Regions from separate parts of the Homo sapiens genome. Here regions 1, 2, 3, 4, 5 and 7 are each linked to region 6. Evidence: promoter capture Hi-C in human tissues and cell types (Jung and others, 2019). All regions are on one chromosome and are shown on one strand. Each heading gives the region's core, a stretch centred on a gene start or on the middle of the fragment in contact. The rest is flanking DNA. Distances are from core to core; before and after follow the strand shown.

Evidence for each region. Contacts are between HindIII fragments. The study calls those that stand out against the background at their distance.
Region 1: a fragment that was not itself captured here is called in contact with the fragment with the promoter of LAT2 in region 6 in 2 of the 25 tissues and cell types used here (dorsolateral prefrontal cortex and lymphoblastoid cells).
Region 2: a contact is called between a fragment that was not itself captured here and the fragment with the promoter of LAT2 in region 6, in 1 of the 25 tissues and cell types used here (mesenchymal stem cells).
Region 3: a contact is called between a fragment that was not itself captured here and the fragment with the promoter of LAT2 in region 6, in 1 of the 25 tissues and cell types used here (dorsolateral prefrontal cortex).
Region 4: a fragment that was not itself captured here is called in contact with the fragment with the promoter of LAT2 in region 6 in 1 of the 25 tissues and cell types used here (lymphoblastoid cells).
Region 5: a contact is called between a fragment that was not itself captured here and the fragment with the promoter of LAT2 in region 6, in 3 of the 25 tissues and cell types used here (aorta, lymphoblastoid cells and spleen).
Region 7: a contact is called between a fragment that was not itself captured here and the fragment with the promoter of LAT2 in region 6, in 3 of the 25 tissues and cell types used here (dorsolateral prefrontal cortex, hippocampus and lymphoblastoid cells).

Annotation. Positions count from the first base shown.
Region 1 is chr7:74,584,140-74,587,803 of GRCh38, forward strand. The region is part of intron 22 of GTF2IRD1 (GTF2I repeat domain containing 1); the gene reads left to right. Among named protein-coding and RNA genes, the nearest start is that of MIR10525, 10 kb to the right of the region's middle. RefSeq lists enhancers at 3,061-3,648, 3,649-3,664. The HindIII fragment of the contact is 6,527 bases long and covers 1-3,664 here.
Region 2 is chr7:74,563,897-74,567,540 of GRCh38, forward strand. The region is part of intron 22 of GTF2IRD1 (GTF2I repeat domain containing 1); the gene reads left to right. Among named protein-coding and RNA genes, the nearest start is that of MIR10525, 30 kb to the right of the region's middle. The HindIII fragment of the contact is 5,280 bases long and covers 1-3,644 here.
Region 3 is chr7:73,867,357-73,871,330 of GRCh38, forward strand. No RefSeq gene overlaps it. Among named protein-coding and RNA genes, the nearest start is that of TMEM270, 8.2 kb to the left of the region's middle. RefSeq lists an enhancer at 2,615-3,544. The HindIII fragment of the contact is 3,681 bases long and covers 1-3,544 here.
Region 4 is chr7:74,508,820-74,512,765 of GRCh38, forward strand. All of the region lies in intron 2 of GTF2IRD1 (GTF2I repeat domain containing 1), which reads left to right. Among named protein-coding and RNA genes, the nearest start is that of WBSCR23, 22 kb to the right of the region's middle. The HindIII fragment of the contact is 5,923 bases long and covers 1-3,946 here.
Region 5 is chr7:73,847,297-73,851,070 of GRCh38, forward strand. No RefSeq gene overlaps it. Among named protein-coding and RNA genes, the nearest start is that of METTL27, 6.7 kb to the left of the region's middle. The HindIII fragment of the contact is 7,829 bases long and covers 1-3,774 here.
Region 6 is chr7:74,207,889-74,211,697 of GRCh38, forward strand. It overlaps LAT2 (linker for activation of T cells family member 2), which reads left to right and starts at 2,118. Exons shown (of 14, transcript NM_032464.3): 1 at 2,118-2,200. RefSeq lists enhancers at 1,602-1,711, 2,932-3,051 and silencers at 1,992-2,041, 3,152-3,241. The HindIII fragment of the contact is 33,709 bases long and covers 1-3,809 here.
Region 7 is chr7:74,718,517-74,722,563 of GRCh38, forward strand. GTF2I (general transcription factor IIi) reads left to right here. Exons shown (of 35, transcript NM_032999.4): 12 at 363-425. The region is part of intron 2 of GTF2I-AS1 (GTF2I antisense RNA 1); the gene reads right to left. Among named protein-coding and RNA genes, the nearest start is that of GTF2I-AS1, 8.4 kb to the right of the region's middle. The HindIII fragment of the contact is 4,068 bases long and covers 388-4,047 here.

The DNA of each region.
Region 1 (3,664 bases), core at 474-2,973, 380 kb after region 6:
TTTTGAGGACTTTGGTATTTAAAGGGGAAAGAGGGCCTGGGTACGGTGGCTCACAGCACTTTGGGAGGCCAAGCCAGGTGGATCACCTGAGGTCAGGAGTTCGAGACTGGCCTGGGCAGCATAACAAAACCCCATCTCTACTAAAAATACAAAAAATTAGCCAGGTGTGGTGGCGGGTACCTGTAATCCCAGCTACTCTGGAGGCTGAGGCACGAGAATCACTCGAACCCGGTAGGCGGAGGTTGCAGTGAGCCAAAATCATGCCACTGCACTCCAGCCTGGAAAACAGGGAGACTCTGTCTCGAAAAATAAAAAAATAAAGGGGGAAGAGGAATAGTTAATGATGTATTTATCCTGTGCTCAGTAAATCTGCCTTTTACATAAGATAAAGTAAATAGAGTAGAGGAAGTCATATAGGCATTTGTCTTGGGTAGACAGAGCAATGATTTCTATTCTTATCTTTGTCCCCTGCCTGTGAAGATAAGCTGTGAATTTACATGGCCAGGGTGAGGGAGGCCACCAGGGGAGCTAGGTGGCCTTCTATCTTGCAGCCATCTGTTTAGGAACAAAAGGCTATTGCGTGACTCAGTTCCCAAGCTTAACATTTCCCTTTGGCATAGTAAGTTTGGGGTCCCATGTTTTTTGTTTGTTTGGGTTTTTTGTGTGTTGTTGTTGTTTTGAGATGAAGTCTCGCTCTTGTCCCCCAGGCTGGAGTACGATGGCGCGATCTTGGCTCTCTGTAACCTCCGCCTCCCAGGTTTAAGCGATTCTCCTGCCTCCGCCCCCGGAGTAGCTGGGATTACAGGCACCTGCCACCACGCCTGGCTAAATTTTGTACTTTTAGTTGAGACGGGGTTTCACCACGTTGGACAGGCTGGTCTCGAACTTCTGAGCTCAGGTGATCCACCCACCTCGGCCTCCCAAAGTGCTGGGATTACAGATGTGAGCCACCGCGCCCAGCCTGTTTGGTGTTTTTTTTTTTTTTTTTTTTGAGACGGAGTCTTGCTCTGTCGCCTAGGCTGGAGTGCAGTGGCGCAATCTCAGCTCACTGCAACCTCCACCTCCCAGTTCAAGGGATTCTCCTGCTTCAGCCTCCTGAGTAACTGGGATTACAGGCATGCACCACCACGCCCAGCTAATTTTTTGTATTTTTAGTAGAGACGGGGTTTCACCATGTTGGCCAGGCTGGTCTGGAACTCCTGACCTCAAGTGATCCACCTGCCTCGGCCTCTGAGAGTGCTGGGATTATAGGCGTGAGTCACCGTGCCCGGTCTGGGCCTCGTCTTTGAGAGGCCTGCTAAGCTTCTTTCTGTCCTGCAGGTTTCGTAGAGCTCTGACTTTGAGTCTCGCTCTGTCCCGACACAGGAGAAGACAGAGGTGTGGCATTGTGGGCTGAGAGCAACAGATTAGAGGAAACTATCTTAAAGATTAAGCCTTCTTTCTACAGCTACTGTAGGGGAGCCTGGGCATGGTGGTTCACGTCTGTAATCCCAGCACTTTGGGAGGCCGAGGTGGGCGAATCACCTGAGGCCAGGAGTTGGAGACCAGCCTGAGTAACATGGTGAAACCCCATCTCTACTAAAAATACAAAAATCAGCCAGGTGTGATGGTGGGTGCCTGTAATCCCAGATACTCGAGAGGCTGAGGCAGGAGAATCACTTGAACCCAGCAGGCAGAGGTTGCAGTGAGCCAAGATCGCACCACTGCACTCCAGTCCAGCCTGGGTGACAGAGCAAGACTCTTCCAAAAAAAAAAAGAAAAAGAAAGAAACTGTAGAGGAATCTGAGACCTCAGGAAACCCAGGGCTCATGGTAGAGTGGAAAGACCAGGGCTTTGGGGTTGACACAGAGTACTCCTGGTGCTTAGAGGCTGTGTGACCTTGGGCAAGTTTCTTTACCTCTCTGAGCCTCTGTGTCTTTGGCTGCAGTGTCTAGGAAAGCATCTGCACACAGTGATGTGTGTGATCCAGGCCATCCTTTCTCTGTTCTGTGCATGCATGGCCATGCCTGCTGAGAATCCTGCCACCAAAGATTCCTCAGTGGCATGGGGACAGATGGAATGTGCTGTTGCTTCCCTGCAGGCTCTAGGAGCTGGTCCTTGGGCCCAGGACTCCATCACTGTTGTCTGCATGGATTTGGACAAGGGTGGCCTTGATTCTTCCCACATCCTAGTCCTGAAAGGAAGGCCCGTGTTGGGTCACAGGAGAAGACGAGGGTTCTAGGGGATGTGGAGCGTGGGGTCTTTGTGTGGCTGAATTAGAGGCATTACTCCACGAGATAGGGACACGGGAGGAGGACGTTGTCTGGAATGGCTGATGTTTGCAGTGTCTCTGGGCACGCAGGGGGGCTGGCGGGCCGTGCCTGAAGACAGATCAGCAACTCAGAGATGTGCAGAGATTGCTGAGTGTGGGTGTGGACGGACCAGGCCAGGGACCTGCAGGGTTTGGGAGGACCTGAGGTGGTGGGTGTTGGAGCCCTGGGAAAAGGAGGAACCAGGCCAAGCAGGTGCCCAGCCTCTGTCCTGTGGGAAGCTCCCTGCTCTTTGGGGCAACCCCCACATGGGGAACAGGGCCTCCATTCTGGCAGCTTGCGCACGGGAGGCCAAGCCACCCAGACGGGGTCAGCAGACTCTAAGCAGCACAGAGCACCACGCCAGGAGATGCAGTTCCCAAGGCAGCCTCCTAAACAGAAGTGAGCTCTTCCCAGAGTTTTCAAGATTAAAAGAGCCAGACACAGTGGCTCACAACTGTAATCCCAGCACTTTCGGAGGCTGCGGACAGGAGGATCGCTTGAGCTTAGGAGTTCGAGAACAGCCTGTGCAACAGAGAGAGACTCTCTCTACAAAAAATTTTAAAAAAACTTAGTCTGGCATGGTGATTCATGCCTGGAGCCCCAGCTACTTGAGAGGCTGAGTGGGGAGGATTGCTTGAGCCAAAGAGTTCAAGGCTGCAGTGAGCTATGATGGCACCACTGTACTCCAACCTGGGAAACAGGGTGAGACCCTGTCTCAAAAAACAGGAGTCAGGCTGGGCACAGTGGCTCACGCCTGTAATCCCAGCACTTTGGGAGACCGAGGCAGGCAGATCACCTGAGCTCAGGAGTTTGAGACCACCCTGGCCAATATGGCAAAACCCCATCTCTACTAAATATACAAAAATTAACCGGACGTTGTGGCAGGCGCCTGTAGTCCCAGCTCTCAGGAGGCTGACGCAGGAGAATGGCTTGAACCTGGGAGGCAGAGGTTGCAGCGAACCGAGACCGTGCCACTGCACTCCAGCCTGGGCAACAGAGTGAGACTCTGTCTTGGAAAAACAAAAAGAAAAAAAAACAGGAGTCATTTTGCTCCAAAGACCCATCAGTCTGCTCTGCCCTGAATCATCCGGCCCTGGCTCCCTGCCTGCGTCTAGCTCCACCCCACAACATCTCACCCTTACCGAACCCGCCTGCCCCAAGAGGCCCAGCCCATGTGACCCCACGCTTCTCAGAGAGGAGATTTCCTGTTGGACATGCAAACCACCCTTCCTGCAATCCCAGCCCCGTCCTCAACCCTGGCACAAGCCCACAGGCTGCTGCAGAGCTCTGCCCCAGACCCCATCTCCAGCCCAACCCCCACTCAGCCTTACAGCCCAGCTCAGGCCCCATCTCCAGGGCTAACTGACTCCAGC
Region 2 (3,644 bases), core at 647-3,146, 360 kb after region 6:
AATAAAAAGAATGGCTCTGAGATTTTTTTAGGTCACTTATTGAAGGTTCCCATGGAAGCCTTTCCTAACAGAACCACCCCGAGAAGGTAAAAATTCTGAAAGAGATTGTGCTTTTTTGTTTTTGTTTTGTTTTGTTTTTTTGTTTTAAGATGGAGTTTCTCTTCTTGTTGCCCAGGCTGGAGTGCAATGGCACAATCTTGGCTCACTGCAACCTCCACCTCCCGAGTTCAAGCGATTCGCCTGCCTCAGCCTCCTGAGTAGCTGGAATTACAGGTGTGCACCATGACACTCGGCTAATTTTTGTATTTTGAGTAGAGACGGGGTTTCACCATGTTGGCCAGGCTGATCTCAAACTTCTGACCTCAGGTGATCAGCCCGCCTCAGCCTCCCAGAGTGTTGGGATTACAGGCGTGAGCCACCGCACCTGGCTGAGATTGTGCTTTTTTGAAGATGAATCAGTCATTAAATTGCAAGAGCCCCACTGCACCCTAGAGCTGTGAGCCTCCCCAGTGTAGGGTGAGAGTACAGCCACTCCTGGACTGGTTTTGTTCTGGGTCAAAAGAGATGACTCAGGCCAGACGTGGTGGCTTATACCTATAATCCCAGCATTTTGGGAGGCCAAGATGGGAAAATCACTTGAGCCCAGGAGTTTGAGACCAGCCTGGGTAACATAGCAAGATCCCATCCTGCAAAGACATTTTTTTAAATTAGCCAGACATGGTGGGGACGAACGACTGTATTCCCAGCTACTCGGGAGGCTGAGGCGGGAGGATCCCTCGAGCCTAGGAGTTGGAGGCTGCAGGGAGCCATAATTCCAGTGTGTGTGACAGAGCGAGGTCTTGTCTCTAAAAAAGAGAGAGAGAGAGAGATAAGCCCAGAATGTCTTTAATATTTTCCCAGCTGAGGACATCACGTTTGCCTTCAGTGCCTCAGTTTCCCCACTAAAATCTAGAGGCCCTGCCTGCTCTGACATGCTGAGTGGCGGGCAGGCGTCTAGCTTGAGAGGAAGGCATACTTGGACTTGGACCAAGCCTCAGAGGGCAGTGGGTGAATTTCAGGCCTCAGGTCAAGGGAGCTGTGGGCCAGGGGTTTCTGGGGGCCAGGGGTACTAGAAAGCACCAGACTGAACTGGAGGGGACCTGGTGGGGGGCCTCGGGTTGCAGAGGGATGGGGGGGACTGGGTCCCCCAACTCATACCAGAAGGAACTCCAGCCCTGCCCGCAAGGGGCTGAGACAACCCACGCTCGACCCTGGGGGCTGAACGCCATTGGTAGCTGGTAGCTCTATACTGCCCAACCAGGCCACACCCACCTGCCTGCAGCGGCACTGAATTAAATTAGGGAGACTGCCAGGCGCGGTGGCTCATGCCTGTAATCCCAGCACTTTGGGAGGCCAAGGTGGGTGGATCACGTAAAGTCAGGAGTTCGAGACCAGCCTGGGCAACATGGTGAAACCCCAACTCTACTAAAAATACAAAAATTAGCCAGGCATGGTGGTGCACTCCTGTAATCCCAGCTACTTAGGAGGCTAAGGCAGGAGAATCACTTGAACCTGGGAGGCAGAGGTTGCAGTGAGCCAAGATCGCGCCATTGCACTCCAGCTTGGGCAACAGAGCACAACCCGGTCACAAAAAAAGAAAGAAAAAAGAAAACCCAGGACAGCTAACGGGGGCTGTTCAGGATATGCTGGGAAGAAGCGGTGGTGACTAAGGCGGGAGAAACCCTCTACCCAGGTAGCTGCTGTAATATTCCATCCGAAGAACATTCTAGTAGGTCATAAAAACCTAAAGGGGGTCGGGCATGGTGGCTCATGCCTATAATCCCAGCGCTTTGGGAGGCCAGTGCAGGAGGATTGCTTGAAGCCAGGAGTTGGAGATCAGCCTGGGCAGCATAGTGAGAACCCATCTCTACAAAAAAAATTTTTTTTAATTAGCTGGGCATGGTGGTGGGTGGTGGCGCTTGCCTGTAGTCCTAGCTACCCAGGAGGCTGAGGCAGGAGGGTCACTTGAGCCCAGGAGTTTGAGGCTGCAGCGAGCTATGATCACAAAGCTCACATCACCTCACTTCAACCTGAGTGACAGAGTAAGACCCTCTCTCTAAAAGACACACAAACACACACACACACACACACACACACACACACCCTAAAGAGAAATGCAAATATATGCCCATGGTAGAAATTTGGAAAATACAGAAATCTAACAACCCAGATGGCTGTTCATTTTTATGATGATACATTTCTTCCAGATTTCCCCCCAAGCTTATTAATTTTACATCTCACTGTTCTTCTTTCTATAAATTTACACATTTAACCTTAAAACATAAACATGTTCCCATGTCTTTAAAAAGCTCTGTTCCCTCTTCAGGCTGTATCATGGTTATGTAACTACCCTGTCCCCCAGTTATGGACATTTGAGCAGCCCCTCACACCACAGACACCTAACACTCACGTCACACTTTTTTTTGAGACGGAGTCTCGCTCTGTCCCCCAGGCTGGACTGCAGTCGTGTGATCTCAACTCACCGTAACCTCCGCCTCCCGAGTTCAAGCAATTTTCCTGCCTCAGCCTCCCAAGTAGCTGGGATTACAGGTGCCCGCCACCATGCCAGGCTAATTTTCCTATTTTAGTAGAGACGGGGTTTTGCCATGTTGGCCAGGCTGGTCTCGAACTCCTGACCTCAGGCGATCCACCCGCCTCGGCTTCCCAAACTGCTGGGATTACAGGTGTGAGCCACCATGCCTGACCACGTCATACTTACGATTTGCCGGTTACAAAGCCCACTCACGTTACCACGTCATCTCCCCAAGTAGCTGGCCTTATTGGAGGGGACTGAGGCTCAGAGAGATTAAGCAGCTTTCTCAAGGTCACACAGTAGTGTGGTAGAGATTTGAACCTAAGTCTTTACCATTTTATTATACTTCGGAACCCAGGGCAGGCTCTACCACTAGCCTAGGGCTTGTTGTGTGTCCCTGAAGTGGGTTGCAGCCACGCCCTCTTTCCCACCACCCCTCTGGTCTCATCCACACAGGGTGGCTCTTTGCTGTCCCCTCCTGGCTACCAGCAGCTATTACACTGGTCCTGCCTGTGTAAACCTTTAGGCTTGTAGTTAATCCTTTGAGTTCATTTATTTGTACAACAAAAATGTATGGAGGGCCAGGCGCAGTGGCTCACGCCTGTAATCCTAGCACTTTGGGAGGCTGAGGCAGGCGGATCACAAGGTCAGGAGATCAAGACCATCCTGGCCAGCATGGTGAAACCCCGTCTCTACTAAAAATACAAAAATTCGCTGGGCATGGTGGCGCATGCCTGTAATCCCAGCTACTTGGGAGCCTGAGGCAGGAGAATCGCTTGAACCCGGGAGGCAGAGGTTGCAGTGAACTGAGATTGCACCACAGCACTCCAACCCGGCGACACAGCGAGACCCTGTCTCAAAAATAAAAAAGAAAAAAAAAAGGAGAGAGAGGTGGAAAGTCCGCAGGTGAAGCCCAGGGAGAAACTTACTGAAGGGGGTGATTGGTTGCACCAGCCTCTGCTGGGAGGTCAGTCCTAATGCCTGAGAGTAGACGGAGGTGCTAAGCAACAGGTTGCAGTGGGATGGTTCAGAGCAATTTTGGGGGAAGTGGTGGGGACCAGAGTGGAATAGT
Region 3 (3,974 bases), core at 454-2,953, 340 kb before region 6:
CATCCATCCACCCACCCACCCACCCATCCATTCATCCACAGAACCAACCACACCCACTCACCCGCTATCTGTTGAAGAGCCATCTGTCTCCCTGGGGAAAGGGGAAACCTATCCAGTATCTCAGCACTCCCCTAACCTGTGAGTAAGGACACAGGGTCCTGCTGCATGGGTGGCTGATGCTGCTGTGCCAGCTCAGGCTGTGATGCTTCCAATCCCCAAGACTCAGCCTTCAGGTGAGTGATTCTGCTGAGAGGGGAAGGGATGGTTTCTTGAGTGTTTGCAGTTACCTCTCACCTACTCCCAAGCCAGAGGGTGGTGGTGTGAGCGTGGCTCTTCTCCACTCGGGTTCCCAGCTCAGTGAGGGCCTCCCTTACAGCTCAGGGTGGATGTGGGTGAACTTCCAGACCCTTCCTCCAAGTCTAAGCAGCAAGGCTGTCCTGCTCTAGGAGGGACATCTGAGGGGTCCCATCTGGCCAACGAGGTAGAACATGTACCAGGAAGGACCTATAAGCACCTGGTCAGAGGGGTAACATGACTGGGATTCTAGAACATACACACAGCTTTCAGGGAAGCATGAGTGCAGGAGTAGGTGATGTCAGCTCTTTGCTGAGGCAGGGACTGGAGGAAAGGAGGAGGCCCCAGAGCAGTTTGGGGCCAAAGTGGGGATGGACAGGAATGTGGCCCAAGCCCCGTGGAGAAGATCTGGGCTTGGGGACAGAAGCTTGGATTCTGTGCCTCTGCCTCTGCCTCTGCCCGCCTAGGTCACTGGGTGTGACCTTGGATGAGGCTCTCTTTGCCCACTCTGGACTTCGGTTCCCATGTCTGTGCAATGCGGGATGGGTGGGGTGATCCCCGATAAGGGAGTCAGCATTTGGTTTGGTTTTTGTTTTTTTGAGACAGGGTTTCGCTGTCACTCAGGCTGGAGTGCGGTGGCATGATCTCCGCTCACTGCAGCCTCCACCTCCCAGGTTCAAACAATTCTTGTGCCTCATCTCTCGAGTAGCTGGGACTACAGGCGAGCGCCACCATGTCTGGCTAATTTTTGTATTTTTAGTAGAGACGGGGTTTCACCATATTGGCCAGGCTGGTCTCAAACTCCTGACCTCAGACGAACTGCCCACCTTGGCCTCCCAAAGTGCTGGGATTACAGGTGTGAGCCACTGCGGCTGGCCGAGAGTCAGCATTTGGGGTTCCTTGATGCCAGGCCTTGTTCCTCAGTGCCCAGGTAAGAGGTGGGGTGGGGCAGGAGAGGAGCAGTCCCCCTGTCTACGCAGCCTGCCAATAAGGCCCTACACTGGCTGACTTCTGGCTCCCTGAATCCCCTGTCCTGGAGTTATTGCTGCTTTTGCAAGATCTCTTCTAGGACTTGAATTCTTCCGGCCTTCCAAGGTCTCTGGCATCCTGGGGGAAAGGGAGAAGGCCAGAATCTCCCCTCGGCTGCCACTCACAATGGTGGGCACAGCAGAGGCCTTGGGGTCAGAGAGCCTTGGGTTTGGATGCTGGATCCACAACCTCTCAGCTGTGTAACCTTTGGCAATTTACTAAACCCTGAGAGCCTCAGTTTCCCCTCCTGTGATCAGGGTATAATCACAACACCCCAGATGTCACAGGGCTGTTGCCTGGTCTGTGCACGTGCGGTCCCCGCTCAGAGCAGGCATGGGAGGCTCTTGGGACCCCACTCCCTGGCTCCCCATCTCCCAGGCCTGCTGCCTTTCTGGGGGCTGCAGCTTCTGAGGCCCGGGGTGGGAGCAGTCAGTCCGTCTGTCTCAGGCCTGTGAGCATGGAGGGGCCCTGGCCTGCTGGAAGAAAACAACTGGTGGCCGGTGTCAGGGGGTGGACGGGGCATGGGCAGGGTGGGGGGAGCTGGCTGCAAGGCCAGCCAGCAGCTTCACGCAATCTGTCTGCTATGCAGTCCTGGGCCTGGCCTGTATTTATTTATGCTGAGCGTGTATTTATATCAGTCCCTTTTTCATTAATAGGGCAGGAAATGGCTGGAATTGTTACATACCTGGCGGGCCAGGGGTCCCACTTCGCCAAGACACACAGGGCCCTGGCTGCCCCGTTGTGATTGTAAGGGCCCCCCTCCTCAGTCTGCCCGCAGGCCCCGGCCCGAGTTCCTGGCCCTTCCCTGACCCCCCCGCCTCTTGTTTTGAGACCCTCTCCACCTCCCGGAGCCCTGGAACCCACATTCCCGGGCGAGGGGTTCATTTGCAGGCCTCTCCCTGTCCCCCGGTTCATCCTGACCTCATCCCAACCCCAGGAAAGGCTGCGGTGTTAGGGGCTGTCAAAGTGCGCACTGAAGGATGGGGGAGGGGCTGGTGAAGTCCACGCAGAGCAGCGGGAGTTTCGGGGAGAGATCAGGGTCGGGAGGGTTTGGGGATGGGATCCTGGCGCCCAGGATGGGGGGACTGGACAGAAAAGGAAATGAGGGGATACATAATAAGAGGGTTCCCCTGAGCAGAGGGGTGGTCCCACCCCCTGGGGCTTCGCTCTCCACCAAGCCCAGTCCCATCATGTAAGCATGGGTGGCCTCTGTCACTTGGGACCTGCCTAGCCCACCAGAGGGGTCTGTGTGTCTATCACCAGCCCCCCTGCTGCCCCAGGCCCAGTGGGGGATGGGGGCTCACTTCTGTCCTGCCTTCCTGCTCCCCGGTCTGCACACTGGGTTCAGCACTGAGCCAGCGTCTCTCTCCAGGCCCCAGCTCTTGGGCTCAGGCCCCAGGTGGGGCTGCCAGAGCTGAGAGGCGCGGCCCCTTCCCCAGAGCGCTCGCCTGACATAACCTATTAGCGCTTCTCGCTTCAATCCAGCTCCCCCAGCCAGCCTCCCCACCCAGGCCAGACTGTGCCGGTCCTGTTGTCTCTCTCCTGAGCTGCTTTGCCCCGACAGGGTGAGAAGGAGCTGGCAAGATGCCCGATGGCCCCAAGAGTAGCTGTGCCTGTTCGCCCCTCCCCTGCTAGGCTGCCCTATGGTCAGGTGGACTTGATCATTGACCTTGACCAGTGGCCGCTGTGGCCACGATGACTTCCTGTCTCAGAGTCCAGAGCTGGGGCCGCTGGACAGTCGTGGGACTGAAACTTAGAGGACAAGGGGCTTTCCTGAAGTCCTGCCCTGTGCCTCGGTCCTTGCCTTCTCAGCTGCACTTCTTTTTTTGTTTTGTTTTGGAGACAGTCTTGCTCTGTCCCCCAGGCTGGAGTGCAGGGGCACGATCTCAGCTCACTGCAACCTCCACCTCCTGGGTCCAAGCAATTCTCCTGCCTCAGCCTCTTGAGTAGCTAGGATTACAGGTGCCCCGCCACCATGCCCGGCTAATTTTTGTATTTTTAGTAGAGACGGGGTTTCGCCATGTTGGCCAGGCTGGTCTCGGACTCCTGACCTCAGGTGACCCGCCCATCTCAGCCTCCCAAACTGCTGGGATTACAGGCATGAGCCACCGCGCCCGGACTCTCGGCTGCACTTCTAGGGGCTGATGGAGGGTGCTGGGGAGAGGCAGCTGACCTTGGGCAGCTGTTGGTATTGAGAAGGGGGCTGCTGGGAGACTTGGGGTTATTATCTAGGATGGAGGCCCTCTGGGTGGCAGGAGGGGGAGGCTGCAGGGTCTCAGGACCATGCTGGGGGCTAATGCAGGGGTCTCTGGGCTTCCCCAGCTGCCCCCCATATCTGTGCTAGATGGGTGAGGATGGCCGGGCACCTGGGAAGCCGTCGTGTCTGGGATCCCTCGGGAGGCTTTCTCCAGCCCCCTCCATCCAGCGCTTGCTTAGCAGTGGTAGTGCCTTCTCTTCTTTCACCCCTCTTCGCCTTTGACCCACCTTGGCTTGGGGTTGGGGGCTTGAGATCCCAAAAGTGCCTGGGATTGGGGGGTTAGCGGTCAGCCCCAAGTCCTCCACCTAGCAGGGCTCTTGCACTTCCTGGGTTGAGCAGGAGGAGGCTGAGGGGTGGGGCCCCCAGGGAAGGCTGGATTCTTTGAGATCCACCT
Region 4 (3,946 bases), core at 235-2,734, 300 kb after region 6:
GTGACCTGGGGGATAATGTGTGGGGAGCCATTCACTAGAAAGATGTAATCCCCAACGTTAAAGCAAGAGTTCTAACTGCATCTCGGGCAGGAAGAGAGAAACCGAGCTTTGTATAATACATCACTCCCCTGGCGCTATTGCCTACATACCTAGACCTATAACAATTTATCCCAAATGAGGACATCATAATACCATTTTCCTCTAGCCTTTTCCTGGGGGGAAGTTCTGTGATGGAAGTGTTAAAAAAAAAAATCTGGCCCAGCACGGTGGCTCACGCAAGTAATCCCAGCACTTTTAGGGGCCGAGGCGGGTGGATCATTTGGGGTCAGGAGTTCGAGACCAGCCTGGCCAACATGGCAAAATCCCATCTCTAGTAAAAATATAAAAATTAGCTGGGCCTGGTGGCACATGCCTGTAATCCCAGCTACTCGGGAGGCTGAGGCAGGAGAATCACTTGAACCCTGGAAGTGGAGGTTGCAGTGAGAAGAGATAGCACCACTGCACTCCCGCCTGGGCAACAGAGGGGGACTCCGTCTCAAAAAAAAATAAATAAAAATAAAAAAATTAGACTGGCATGGTGGCACATTCCTGTAATCCTGCCTACTCAGGAGGATGAGGCAGGAGAATTGCTTGAACCTGGGAGGCAGAGGTTGCAGCGAACCGAGATCGTGCCACTGCACTTCAGCCTGGGCAACAGAGGAGACTCTCTCAATTAAAAAAATTTTTTTAAATAAAAATAAAATTAAAAATCTGTCTAACATCAGTTAGCTGCGCTCCTGCATTTTAGGATGATGAAGCACAGAGAGGGTAGTACCTTGCCCAAAGTCACACAGCATGACCAGTTTTGTTTTGTTTTGTTTTGTTTTGTTTTTGAGACGGAGTTTCGCTCTGTCGCCAGGCTGGAGTGCAGTGGTGTGATCTCGACTCACTGCAACCTCCGCCTCCCAGGTTCAAGCAATTCTCCTGCCTCAGCCTCCCCAGTAGCTGGGACTACAGGCCCCCACCACCACACGTGGCCAGATAATTTTTGTACTTTTAGTAGAGACCGGGTTTCACCATGTTGGCCAGGATGGTCACAATCTCTTGACCTCGTGATCCGCCCACCTCAGCCTCTCAAAGTGCTGGGATTACAGGCGTGAGCCACTGCGCCTGGCCCAGCAAGACCAGTTTTTAGAGCGAACTTCTGGGTACAAAGTCTCCCCGAAAAATAAAGGACCTCCTTCAAGCTGTTCCTGCTGTAGGTGGCTCAAGGGCTGCTTAAGTGGTGTTTGGGGCAGCGGTGGGAGACACCCCTGGAAAAGGGGCTGGGTGCCACACTCTCTCCATGATGACCCCTCCCCTATGCAGAGTGACTTTCATGAGGAGGGGGCCCCAGGAGCTCAGCCCTGTGTCCCAAAGTACTGTGAGCTTGGCATTGATGGAGGTGTGGCTGATGTGGGCAGTGATGGGCGATGCCATGGCCACTAGTGACATGTGGCTATTTGCAATTTTTTTTTTTTTTTTTGGAGATAGGGTTTTGCTCTGTCACCCAGGCTGGAGTGCAATGGCGCGATCTTGGCTCACTGCAACCTCCGCCTCCTGGGCTCAAGTGATTCTCCTGCCTCAGCCTCTGGAGTAGCTGGGATTACAGGTGTGCGCCACCACACCTGGCTAATTTTTTTGTATTTTTAGTAGAGACGGGGTTTCACCATGTTGGCCAGGCTGGTCTCAAACTCCTGACCTCAGGTGATCCACCTGCCTCAGCCTCCCAAAGTGCTGGGATTACAGGTGTGAGCCACTGCCCCTGATTCATTTAAATTCGAATTCGTTAAAACGAAATAAACAACTCAGTTGTTCAGTTGCACCAGCCTCATTTTACGTGCTCAGTAGTCAGAAGTGGCTGGTGTCTATGGATTGGACAGTGCAGAGGTAGAATGTTTTCATAGTCATAGAAAGTTACACTGGGTTGGCCAGGCGCAATGGCTCACGCATATAATCCCAGCACCCTGAGAGGCTGAGTGGGGCAGATCACTTGAGGCCAGGAGTTTGAGACCAGCCTGGCCAACATGGTGAAACTCCATCTCTACTGAAAATACAAAAATTAGCCAGGCATGGTGATGCATGCCTGTGGTCCTAGCTATTCGGGAGGCCGAGGCAGGAGAATCGCCTGAGCCTGGGAGGCAGAGGTTACAGTGAGCCGAGGTCGTGCCACTGCACTCCAGCCTAGGTGACAGAGCAAGACTTTGTCTCAAAAAAAAAAAAAAAAAGTTCTACTTGGCAGCAGTGGTCTAGTGAGTGTTTCAGAGCCTCCTTGGAGGAGCACATGACCCTATAGTTATCCTAGCAGTGCGAACAAGACAGGCTCCCCCGTCCCTGGGCCTTTTAAGGGTTTCCTGAGGGACCCTATGGGTGACAATGATATTTGCTTAGCAGTAACTTAAGTCCAGCCTCCTCCAAATGCTAGGGTCTTTTGGTGACCTGTAGGGAGGGTGGGCTGAAGGGATGTGCCTTCGTCACCCGCCCCCAATCTCATCCTCTTCCCCACCAGCTCTGGGTGCCTTTAGGTGGGTGAGTTTTCTGCCATGGTCTCGGCGTCTTCAGCTGAGCGGTGACTGTGGGATGAAGCAGCTCTTTCAGCTGTGATGGATGAGAAACAGCTGGATTTATTTGTTTTATTTTTTGTTAATAGTCTACAGTGTTCCCGCGCAGAAAGGGAACAGCAAGCTTTTGTTTTCATCTTAGAAGAAAATGAATGCCCTGTGTTTTAATTTTCCAGTAGGGACCCTGGAGGACAGGCTTCCTGGCCCCACGCCGCGTGCACCTTCCTAACCAGAGCGACTCCAGGCTGGGGCTGGCACAATAGGCAAGATTATGGCCCAGAGAGGTTACCTGTCCCAGGCCACGCAGCACAGAACTGCGTTTGGAAGCCAGACTTTATAGCTGCCAGCACTACCTGACTCAGATGAAAACCAGCATTTATTAGACACAACTGCCTGCCACAGGCTTCACAGTCAGGGTTTTCCTGGTGGGGTAGGTCAGAGACCTGAGATGCTGGTGGTCTTGGTTGTAGGGACCCCCTACATTAAGGCCTCTGGGCTATGGGGCTGCAGACCTCGACTCTGGGGCCATGAGGATAGCCAGCTGCCTGTATACCCATATAGGGTGTCCCAGTTTAGAGATCTTTTTCCTCCAACCATTGAATCCCCATACCCAAGCCCAGTGGCACTGTGGAACTGGGCTGCTTGTCCCCAATTCTATAGACGTGGAAACTGGCCACGCAGAGTGGCTCACGCCTGTAATCCCAGCACTTTGGGAGGCTGAGACGGGCAGATCACCTGAGGTCAGGAGTTTGAGACCAGCCTGGCCAACATGGTGAAACCCCATCTCTACTTATAATACAAAAATTAGCAAGGCGTGGTGGCGGGCGCCTGTAGTCCCAGCTACTCGGGAGGCTGAGGCAGGAGAATCGCTTGAACCTGGGAGGCAGAGGTTGCAGTGAACCAAGATTGTGCCACTGCACTCCAGCCTGGGCGACAGAGTGAGACTGTGTCTCAAAAAACAAAACAAAACAGATGTGGAAACTGGAGCCCAGAGGAGGGACGTGACTTGCTCAAGTCCCACAGCAGAAGTGGCCGAGGTGGGATTGCAGCCCCAGTCTGTCCAGTCCCCGCCTGTCCTGCAGTTCTTCCCACCTCCTCCTCATCCAGGACTTGAGAGGGGCCAAGAAAACCCAGCACGGCATTGTCCCTGGGGCTGGGGCTAAGGGGGGCCTACCCCAAGGAGGAGGACCTTGGAGGGAGGAGCAGAGGACACTTGTCCTCCTCCACCCCCCATCGCCAATGCCTGCAGGGCCATTTCATTCAGTCCCACTACAGAATCTGAGACCAAGAACAGTAGAGGGGCCGTCTGTCCCTGGAGCTGCTGCTGGGGTCTCAGGCAGCTGGGAGCTCACATCCCACCCCCGAAG
Region 5 (3,774 bases), core at 284-2,783, 360 kb before region 6:
ACAGAGCGAGTCCATCTCAAAGAAAAAAATACAAACAAAACAAAGCCCAAAGTAGGCTAGGAATGGCAGGAGCTTTTCCTTGTTTCTCCTTCCCTCCCTCCCTCCCTCCCTTCCTCCCTCCCTCTCTCCCTTTTGTCCTTTATATTTTTAATTTTAATTTTATTTTTTTGAGAGGGGTCTTGCTCTGTTTTCAGGCTGGAGTGCAGTGATACAATCCTAGCTCACTGCAGCCTCTACGTCCTGGGCTCAAGCAATCCTTCTGCCTCAGCCTCCTGGGTAGCTGGGACTCCAGGTGCTTGCCACCAAGCCTGGTTAATTAAAAAAAAAAAATTGTAGAGATGGGGTCTTGCTATGTTGCCTAGGCTGGTCTCCAATTCCTGGGCTCAAGCCATCCTCCCTCCTTGGCATTCAAAATGCTGGGATTACATGTGTGAGGAACCTACCTGGCCTTTCTCTTTCTTTCTATGGGAGGAGGGTATTTCCAGAAGCCACAGAAGCTGGGAAACTGTGATCTGGCACTTTGAGGCTCAGGTGTGGGGTGTGAGCTTTCCATCCAGGAAGGAGGGAGGGGAGAATGGCTTGTGGTACTGTTCCCAGACCAAACTGAGGGTCGGGCTGCTACTTCTTGTGGCCCAATAACGAGATGCACACAAACTGGGGAGGAAGAGAGTTTTTATTTCTGTAACCGTTTACAGGGAGAAGGCGTGGAAATTATCACCCGACTAACTCAAAGTTACAAAGTTTTCCAGAGCTTATACACCTTCTAAGCTATACGTCTATGTGTAAGTGTGCATTCATCTGAAGACATAAGTGATTAATTTCTTTTAATCCATGACTAAGGTCTGAGTCCCGAAGCTCTTCCTCTGGAACCTCAGTAAATTTACTTATCTAAATGGGTCCAGGTGCTGGGGTGATTCCTGTTATCTCCTGCTAAATCATGGAGGTTTGAGGAGTTCCTTCAGACCGCCAATAAATTTGTTTGTGGAGGCCTGGGGAGTTTCTTCAGACCCAAAATAAAACTTGCTTAATTCTAAATGGTCCTGTTAAGAATTCCTTCATTATTTTGTCGTGATTTAAGGCCCAGGAAAGGCCTGGGCAAAACTCTTGGTGGGCTTTTGTTACATCCCAGCCTTTGTATAAGGGCACTGGCTTTTAATATTTAAATTAACCACTCAGTCAGTACTGAAACAGTTGTTGGGGAGACCTGGCCTGCCACAGTGCGGGCTCCTGTGCTGCTCCTGGGGTGTGAGGGCGTGTGTTCCTTCATGTGCACCTGTGTGATGAGCGGGGAATGTTACAGGTGTCCATTTTGATGTGTGCAGGACCCAGGCCATGGAGAGCTTGGTCCCCAGGCTATGGACTCCCTCCCTTCCTTCCTTCCTTCCTTCTTTTCTTTTTCTTTCTTTCTTTTCTTTCCTTCCTTCCTTCTTTCTTTCTTTCTTTCTTTCTTTCTTTCTTTCTTTCTTTCTTTCTTTCTTTCTTTCCTTTCCTTTCCTTTCCTTTCCTTTCCTTTCCCTCCCTCCCTCCCTTTCTTCCTTCCTTTCTTCCTTCCTTCCTTTCTTGATGGAGTCTCACTCTGTTGCCCAGGCTGGAGTGTAGTGGTGCAATCTTGGCTCACTGCAACCTCTGCCTTCTGGGTTCAAGCAATTCTCCTGCCTCAGCCTCCCAAGTAGCTGGGACTACAGGCATGTGCCACCACGCCCAGCTAATTTTTTTTGTATTTTTAGTAGGGATGGGGTTTTGCCACGCTGGCCAGGCTGGTCTCAAACTCTTGACCTCAGGTGATCTGCCTGCCTCGGCCTCCCAAAGTGCTGGGATTACAGGCATGAGCCACCACGCCTGGTCTATGGACGTGCTTTCTAACCCTGAATGTGTAATGGGGAGTTGTGGCTTCAGATTTGCATTTTACCAAGATGGCTCCAGAAGGCGGCAGGGAGAGCCAGCTGGGTGAACCGCAAGTTCCGAGGCTGTTGCAGTTACTTGGCAAGAGCTGGAGTGTCAAGAGTCAGGGGCTGCTGAGGAGGGGGTGACCTTGGTGCTGATGGGGTGTGGGGGCTGTTGAGGACCAGATGGCAACTTCCCTTCCTTGGAGTTTTCTTCCTACCTCATCTTCTTCACCGCCTCCTCCTTGCTCTTCTCCTACCTCTAAGCTTAGGAGAGGCCCCCGGCTCTGTCCTGGGTCTTCTTCCTTCTCTGTGTACACCCACTTCCTAGGTGATCTCATCTAGTCCCGTGGTTTTAAATACTGTTTATTTGTGGGTGACTCCCAAATTGATGACTTCTAGTCTTGGCTCTCCCCTGAACTCTGGACTTGTTCACCCAGCCATGAAACTGACATCTCCTTGGAGGCCACAGGTCTGGCAACGAGCCCAGACCCGAGAGTGATTCTTTCCACTCCCAAATCTGCTCCTCTTCAGGGCCCGTCTCTGCAAATGCCCCTGAACCACCTTGCACTCAGGGGCTCAGCTCAAGCTGTTTTTCTCCCATCTCGCACCCTGTTCATCAGCAAATCCTGTGGACTCAAACTACACCAGCCAGGTGCGGTGGCTCACACCTGTAATCCCAGTACTTTGGGAGGCCAAGGTGGGTGGATCACTTGAGATCAGGAGTTCAAGACCAGCCTGGCCAACATGGCAAAACCCTGTCTCTACTAAAAGTACAAAAATTATCCAGGGATGGTGGTGCATGCCTGTAATCCCACCTACTTGGGAGGCTGAGGCAGGAGAATCACTTGAACCGGGGAGGCAGAGGTTGCAGTGAGCCAAGATCACGCCATTGCACTTCAGCCTGGGCAACACAGCAAGACTCTGTCTGAAAAAACTAAAAGAAAAAAAAGAAGAAGAAAATCTCAAACACACACAAAAGAAGAGACTAGTGTAATAACTCCCCATGTATTTCTTCATGAGCGTTTCAATAGTTAACAAACTGAGCCCAGCCAGAGTGGCGTTTTTACAGTATCCATCTGATGAGTTTACGCCCCTGCTTAAAACCTAAAATCCAGCTTCTTTCCTCTCCTTATCTGTAGCGTCTCTTTTCCTTGATCCGCCACTCTGGCCTCTGCTGTTCCTGGACTGTGCCAAGGCTATCACAGGGCCTTTGCACTATTTTCCAGCCGGGAAAATCCCCTCACCTCAGCCTCCCGAGCAGCTGGGACTACAGACGTGCACCACCACACCCAGCTAATTTTTTTTTGTATTTTTCGTAGAGGTGGGGTTTTGCCATGTTGCCCCACTCTTCCTTCAACTCTGCTTCAGTGGCTTTTTTTTTTTTTTGAGATGGAGTCTTGCTCTGTCGCCCAGGCTGGAGTGAAGAGGCGCGATCTCGGCTCACTACAACCTCCGCCTCCTGGGTTCAAGCGATTCTCCTGCCTCAGCCTCCCGAGCAGCTGGGACTACAGGCATGCACCACCAGGCCCGGCTAATTTTTTGTCTTTTTAGTGGAGATGGGATTTCACCAAGTTACCCAGCTGGTCTTAAACTCCTGACTTCAAGTGGTCTGCCCGCCTTGGCCTCCCAAAGTGCTGGGATGACCAGCATGAGCCCCCATGCCCAGCCATTTATGAGCTCTTTCTGTGTTGATGCTTGCGGACTGGGTTCGTTTTCACCACCGCTTAGTCATCCCTCAAGCCTCAAGCTGACACACCCAGCTGATACAGCTCCCCTTTCCTGGGGATAGGAAATAACATTGCCATGCACATGTCTCTTTGTTCACAAGTGGATGTTTCTGGAAGGAATGCTTTAACCCACTGGAGGGTAGTGAAAACAATTCAGCTGG
Region 6 (3,809 bases), core at 868-3,367:
AGCCCTGGGGTGGACACCGTGGCTGCCATCCACACAGACATGAGGACCGAGTGAGATAGTTCCCTGTGGAGGCCAGGATGCTCTGGCACCTGAGGTCAATAAAGCCACATCCCACAAGTGGGTGGACTGCCTTGTGCTATTGACCATTAAACAGCTGCCCAAGGCCATTGAGCTATTAATTAAATAATAATTATTATTATTTTAAATTTTTTTGTTGTGTTTTTTGGGTTTTTTTGTTTTTGTTTTGTTTTTTTGAGATGGAGTCTCGCTCTGTTGTCCAGGCTGTAGTGCAGTGGCACGATCTTGGCTCACTGCAAACTCCGCCTTCTGGGCTCAAGTGATTCTCCTGCCTCAGCCTCCCAAGTAGCTGGGATTACAGGCACCCACCATCACACCCGGCAAATTTTTGTATTTTTAGTAGAGATGGGGTTTCACCATTTTGGCCAGGCTGGTCTCAAACTCCCGACCTAAATAAGGTGATCCACCTGCCTTGGCCTCCCAAAGTGCTGGGATTACAGATGTGAGCCACCACGCCCGGCCTATTTATTGTTTTTACAGACAGACAGGGTCTTGCTGTCCCCCAGGCTGGAGTGCAGTGGCAGAGTCACGGCTCACTGCAGCCTCCAACTCTTGGGCTCAAGAAATCCTCCCGTTTTGGCCTCCCAAAACACTGGGACTACAGGTGTGTGCCACCACACCCAGCTAATTAAAAAAATTTTTTTAGAGATGGGGTCTCGTTCTGTTGTCCAGGCTGGTCTCAAATTCCTGTTCTCAAGCGATCCTCCTGCCTCAGCCTCCAAAAATGTTAGGATTGCAGGTGCAAGCCACTGCACCTGGCCTCTATCTCCCTGTTTCTTGCTCTCTCCCCATCTGTGTGTGTCTCTGACAGTCTGTGGCTCTCTGTATCTTTCTGTGTGTCTCTCTGTGTGTGTCTTGGTCCATCTCATGCCCAGCTAATTTTTAAATTTTTTGTAGAGATGGGGTTTCACCATGTTGGCCAGGCTGGTCTTGAACTCCAGACCTCAGGTGATTCTCCTGCTTCAGCCTCCCAAAGTGTTGGGATTACAGGCATGAGCCACCGTGCCTGGCCCATGGGTATGAATTTCTGCCTGTGTGTGTCTTCTTCTTTTTTTTTTTTTTTTTGAGATGAAGTCTTGCTCTGTCACCCAGGCTGGAGTGCAGTGGCGCTATCTTGGCTCACTGCAACCTCCACCTCCTGGGTTCAAGCAATTCTCCTGCCTCAGCCTCCCGAGTAGCTGGGATTACAGGCACCCGCCACCACACCCAGATAATTTTTGTATTTTTGGTAGATATGGGGTTTCACCATGTTGGTCAGGCTGGTTTTGAACCCCTGACTTCATGACCTGCCTGCCTTGGCCTCCCAAAGTGCTGGGATTACAGGCATGAGCCACCGCGCCCGGCCCATGGGTGTGAATTTCTGCCTGTGTGTGTCTTTTTAGCGTATGTGTGTCTCCATATCTGCCATCTGCAGGAGCACCTCAGTTTCATTATCTTGCTCCCTGTCTATTGGAGTGTATCTCTCTTCCTCTCTGTGTGACTTTTTGTGTTTATGTGTGTGTTTAGTGTGTGTCCATATTTTCCTGTTCTCTTGTGTCTCTCTGCTGTGTCTCTCTCTTTTTCTTTCTGTTTTTTGAGACGGAGTCTCCCTCTGTCACCCAGGCTGGAGTGCAGTGGTGCGATCTCGGCTCACTGCAACCTCTGCTTCTGAGGTTCAAACGATTCTCCTGCCTCAGCCTCCCGAGTAGCTGGAATTACAGACACATGCCACCATGCCCAGCTAATTTTGTATTTTTAATAGAGACGGGGTTTCACCATGTTGGCCAGGCTGGTCTTAAACTCTTGACCTTACGTGATCCACCCGCCTCGGCCTCCCAAAGTTTTTGGATTACAGGTGTGAGCCACCTCGCCCGGTCCTATCTCTCTTTCTTCTCTTTCTCCCTCTCACTTTGTTTCTCTTCTCTCTCTCTCTCCCGCCTCCTTCCCCCGTCTCCCCTCCCTTCCCCCCACCGCCCTCTTCATAGCTGAGCCTGTCCGGCAGTGCGGCGGATGTACGGATGATTCAGTGGCTGGCAGGAAGCCCGCCCTGCCCGCCCGCCAGTGTCAGTGGTGTTGGCATCAGCTTGGGCAGGTGTGCGGGCTCAGGATGGGGCGGCCGTGGTGAGGAACCCTGGACTCTCAGGTAAGCCTTTCCCAGGGGTGCCTCAGTCCTCAGGCTGTCCCCCATCCCCCAGGAGCTCCTGGCCCCACTGGGTGGGGTGGGAAGAGGCCTGGATGCCTGGCGCCCCCTCCCGCAGCCCCACTCTCACCCTGGCACCAGGCTCTGTGGCACTTCAGGGGTCAGTTTGTTTCTGGGCTTCTGGCCACTCTCTTGCCCTCGCCTTCCCCTGTCCAGCCTGTGTAGCCTTGGGACATCCCAGGGTGGTCCCATCATTGCCAGAGACTGGTGAAGTAAGTGGCCGAGAGCCAAAACAGTGGCTGCCCTGGCCTGGGAGCCTCGGTTTCCTCATCCGTGAAATGGGACTGTAACCCCCTACACAGGTCAGGGGAAAACGGTGGGATTACAGGCCAGGGCCCAGGTCTTGCCCCAGGTCAGGTGAAGAACCCCCACTGCCTCCCTGCCCAGCCCCCTACCTGGCCCTCAACTCTGTCCCTGGGACCAGGGCTGCTCAGGCCCCTCCTGCACCCGCCCGCCTCCCTCTCTCCCTCCCAGCTAGGCTCATTTGAAGCCCAGAGTTATTTGGAAAAAGCAACAGGACCAGCCGGGCACGGTGGCTCAACCTGTAATCCCAGCATTTGGGGAGGCCAAGGCGGGAGGATCATTTGAAGTCAGGAGCTGGAGACCAGCCTGAGCAACATAGTGAGACTCCCATCTCTTTAAAAAATAAAAATAAAAAAATATAATTAAAAACTAAATGAAAAAACCAACAGACCCCAGAGCAGAGTCCAGTGGATAAAGCCATCCAGGGCTTCAAGCCAGGCTGCCCCCTCCCCAACCCCAGTGTCCCCAACCACAGCTCAGCTCGGAGAAGGCTGGGAGAACCGGCAGGGTGGTCTCGAGCGTCCTTCCAGGCGGGATTCAGACACTGTAGCTCCTCCAGCCCAGCCCCGAGAACTTCCCCGAAGCCAGCTCTTGGCAATCGTTGTTCATATGAAAACTGCCCACTTCCCTTTAGTGCTATTTTGGCCTCTGCAGAACCGTGGTCTGTGGCAGCCCCCACTCCCCACCCCGCCCAGCCCTGCCGGCCCCTGGGGGCCTCAGAGGGTCCACCCTCCGCTCCCTCCACCTCAGCCCACCTGCTTTCAGAACCTGGATGGGAGAGTGAAAGTGAGAGCGAGACAGAGACACAAAGGGAGACAGAGACAGAGAGAGAGCACAGAATTTTTTTAAACGGAGTCTCACTCTGTTGTCCAGGCTGGAGTGCAGTGGCGTGATCTCGGCTCACTGCAACCTCCACCTCCCAGGTTCAAGCAGTTCTCCTGCCTTACCCTTCCAAGTAGCTGGGGACTACAGGCACGTGCTACCACACCTGGCTAATTTTTTATTTTTTATTTATTTTTTATTTTTTGGAGACAGTCTTGCTCTGTCTCCCAGGCTGGGAGTGCAGTGGTGCAATCTTGGCTCACTGCAAGCTCCACCTCCCGGGTACATGCCATTCTCCTGCCTCAGCCTCCCGAGTAGCTGAGACTAGAGGCGCCTGCCACCACGACCGGCTAATTTTTTGTATTTTTAGTAGAGACGGGGTTTCGCCATGTTAGCCAGGATGGTCTCAATCTCCTGACTTTGTGAT
Region 7 (4,047 bases), core at 1,172-3,671, 510 kb after region 6:
AGAAATTCTAACCAAAGTAGAAAGCATTTGTTTCTATCCGAGCATCTTCTAGCTGTGGCAGGAAATTCATTGTGACTTTGTCATATCCTCATTCCTCCAAGACTATGGGATTTTTTTGAGTCAATTTCTGCAGGTAACATGTTATCATCTAAATTTTTCCAGAGTTTTTCTAATTTTTGTTTTCTTTTATCCCTATTTATAATGACAAGGGTCAAATTTTAATTTCATTAATATGAAATGAATGAAAATGCCAGTGGATTTTTATAGTAGGCTGCTTTTGGAGTATCAAATCAGTAAAATGTTGGAACATATGGAAACATGCTTAATAATGAATGTCATTTTAGAATTTTATTTTTTTCAAGATTCTACTCAACATGTCCCTTCAGAAACAAGTGAGGACCCTGAAGTTGAGGTGACTATTGAAGGTTAGTTATCTAAAAGCCTTGATTCCAAAGTTTACTTCTGGTCATAAAAATACTTGTCACATTCACATTGCTAAATATGCATTTCATTCATTTTTAAAGGAGACTTGTGGGACGAATACATGTGTCTGTGTGGCCAAAGCAGCCCACTCCCCAGTGCTTTGGGAGTTTTAGATGACAGAATGAGGCCGTGAGAATTAGCATTGGCCCACGGGTGGCCCAAGCTATCCTTGCTATCAGTGGGAGTTGAAAAGAGAAAAAGAAAATTATGACCAGACTTGATACACACAAAAACAGATTCTATAATCTATTGGGTTGTGATAGAAGAAGACTTATTTGGAGCTGGAATCCCTAATTTCTAATTAAGTAAAGTGGAGGAGAAAGTGTTGATAGTTTAGTGAGTAATTTTTAAAGCAAGTCCCTGCCCCCTTCAACGACCCGCAAATACTACTTAGAGGCTGACATACAATTTATCTTTCAAAACTGTTTTGAAGCAATAGCTACAAATATATTCTACAATACTCTCTATAGCTAAGATTGCTTCAAACCTGTTTTTTTCTCCAAAGATAAGCTTGAACTCAGCTGAGCCAGTTTATCCTGAATTATTTGAAAATTCAGCTAATAGAATTATTAACTATCACTTCATATTAATAGTTATTAAATGAGCATTGCGTTTTTCCTTTTAAATTAATGTCTCACAGCTGGGCACGGTGGCTCACACCTGTAATCCCAGCACTTTGGGAGGCCAAGGTAGGCAGATCACCTGAGGTCGGGAGCTCAAGACCAGCCTGACCAGCATGGTGAAACGCCCATCTCTACTAAAAATACAAAACTAGCTGGGTGTGGTGGTGCATGCCTGTAATCCCAGCCACTTGGGAGGCTGAGGCAGGAGAATCGCTTGAACCCTGGAGGCAGAGGTTGTAGTGTGCTGAGTTCACGCCATTGCACTACAGCCTGGGCGACAGAGTGAAACTCCATCTCAAAAAAAAAATTAAAATTAAAATTAATGTGTCACAATACTTGTGTAAGTTTCTTCCCCTGAAAGTACTTCTTTCTTGTGGTAAAATGTGAAAATGGTACAGTAAATTGTACAGTGGAAAGTTTTCTTCACCCTCACTCTGCTCCCAAGTCCCAATACTGAGGGATGTATGCCAGCTTATTGTGTCTACTTAGAGAAATAATTGCAGTACATATCTTGATGCGAAAATACACAGATGCTTTCAGCATACATTACAATGCACATTTTAAAATATTACATATTCCATAGGCCTCCCCCTCCCATAACTGCACATCTTGGTACTTTATTAGTTTTTTTTTCTAGCTGCTGCGTAACCTTTCTTGGTTTGCTGTCTGTCTCTCTTTCTCTCTTAATAACCTGTCACCTACTGATGTCACTTGGTTATTTCTAGTGTTTGACTACTCCAAACTACTCAACGTGTCTGTCTTCATTGCTTCTAAAATATAAGTCAATTAGTAGCTTCCACTTAATACAAGAAATCTTTTCATACTTCATGTGTTAACTTAATATACAGATTTCTTTTTTCATAAATATAATTTTTCTAATCTAAAACATTTTGCATTGTTTACAGTCCAGCATTAAATGGTTGAAATTTAATTCGTTTTTAGTGAGAAACCTCATTAACAGGAAAAAAACTTAAGAACATACAAATATTACAACTACTCAGCTGTGCCCTTTCTATGGAGATATTAATAGGAGGTTATTAAAATTATAAAAATAAAGCTTTTAGGGTAGGACTAATAACCATTTTGATTTGTCAAATCTTAAAGCAGATAGAAGCTGTATTTTTTTTTTTTTTTTTTTGAGACAGAGTCTGGCTCTGTCGCCCAGGCTGGAGTGCAGTGGTGCGATCTCGGCTCACTGCAAGCTCTGCCTTCCTGGTTCACGCCATTCTCCTGTAGAGGCTGTATTAAAATGGTTTAGAATGTAAATACTTGCTTTTATAGTATAAGACTTTTAAAGAAAGGTTACGAAAATCCAGAAATAAATGGCTCATGAACCTGAAGCTTATGTCAGCCTTTTGAACTTTAACTGTTTTGGATGGAGTAATAAATCTCTTTTCTTTTCATTTATTTGTTTATTTATTTATTTATTTGTTTTTGAGATGGAGTTTCACTCTTGTTGCCTAGGCTGGAGTGCATTGGCGCTATCTCGGCTCACCGCAACCTCCGCCTCGCAGGTTCAAGCGATTCTCCTGCCTCAGCCTCCTGAGTAGCTGGGATTACAGGCATGCGCCGCCATGCTCGGCTAATTTTGTATTTTTAATAGAGACAGGGTTTCTCCATCTTGGTCAGGCTGGTCTCGAACTCCTGACCTCAGGTGATCTGCCCACCTCGGCTTCCCAAAGTGCTGGGATTACAGGCATGAGCCACCGCACCTGGCCATTCATTTCTTTTAAACTAAGACATTGTGCCATAAGCCTGATTTAATGTTCACATTTGTGATTAAGTAGTAGAATTTTGCTAGTAGACCTCTTTCTTTTCAGAAGACCAGTGAAATACCAGGTCTGAGTAAAGTAATCCTTTTAAAAGGTAGCATTTTCCATGTCATATGTGCATATACACACACACATTTTATGTATTATATATAAAAAATATGTATATTATATAGAAATTACATCAACAATTAAATTCCTCATTTTTTTAAGAAGATAAAAAACTGTCTCAATATTAACAAGGAAGGTCAAGTGAGAACTTACATGCACACCTCTGGTTAATAATGTGTATCATATATTCTTTCTGGAAAGATTACTTCCAAATGGTAGGAGCTATTTAGATACCCGTAGTTAGGAAATAAAATTTTGGTATATCTTCATAACAGAAAAATATATAGCCATTGAAATCCTGATAATGTTTTCCAATAATCTGAAAAAAGATCTCTAATATAAAATGTTCAGTGGAAAAAAAAAAAATCCTGCCTTGAGAACAAGGCAACTTGAAAAGCAAAAGTGCATCTAGAGGATAATCTTAGTTTTGTTTTGGAAAATACTCATGCTTGGTAGGAAGACGGACAAAAATAAACTGAGATATTCCTGCTTGCTTGGAGACGACTTAATTTTCTCCTTTTATATCTTTTCACATTTCCCAAATCATTGGTAGAAAAAAAAACAGAACTTTGTTATCAAATAAGTCTGTCCGATTTTTCACAGTGTTTTCACCTCGATATCTTCATTTGCAATTATGTGGAGTTCTGAAGTGGCTAATTTGACACCGACGCGGACGTGTTTGTGGATACAGGGTCATTACTTACCCACTGCCGGTGCGCTCTGAGCTGTGCACTTCCATTTGTGGCGTTTTATTTGTACTTGGAGTCGGTGGTAAACATTTAAAACATACGTGACTTAGGTTTGGGAAATCGGCCTTGGACTAATAGGACCGCATGCCTCAGTTTTCGTAAACACCGTGACTACATTTCTGGGTTAAGGTGAATTGCCGTCAGGTATGTTATCTCTAATGTGTGCAGAGAAAACCTTATCAGACTTGTTTCAGGTCTAGCTGTCATGGGAGTGCTAAGAACCGTGTAAAGGAGGTTTCTTTCTTGCGCAGTTCTCTCTTAGGGCCTAGCTTCCCAAACCTGAGTCACTTACCTGTTACCTGTGTTCCTTCT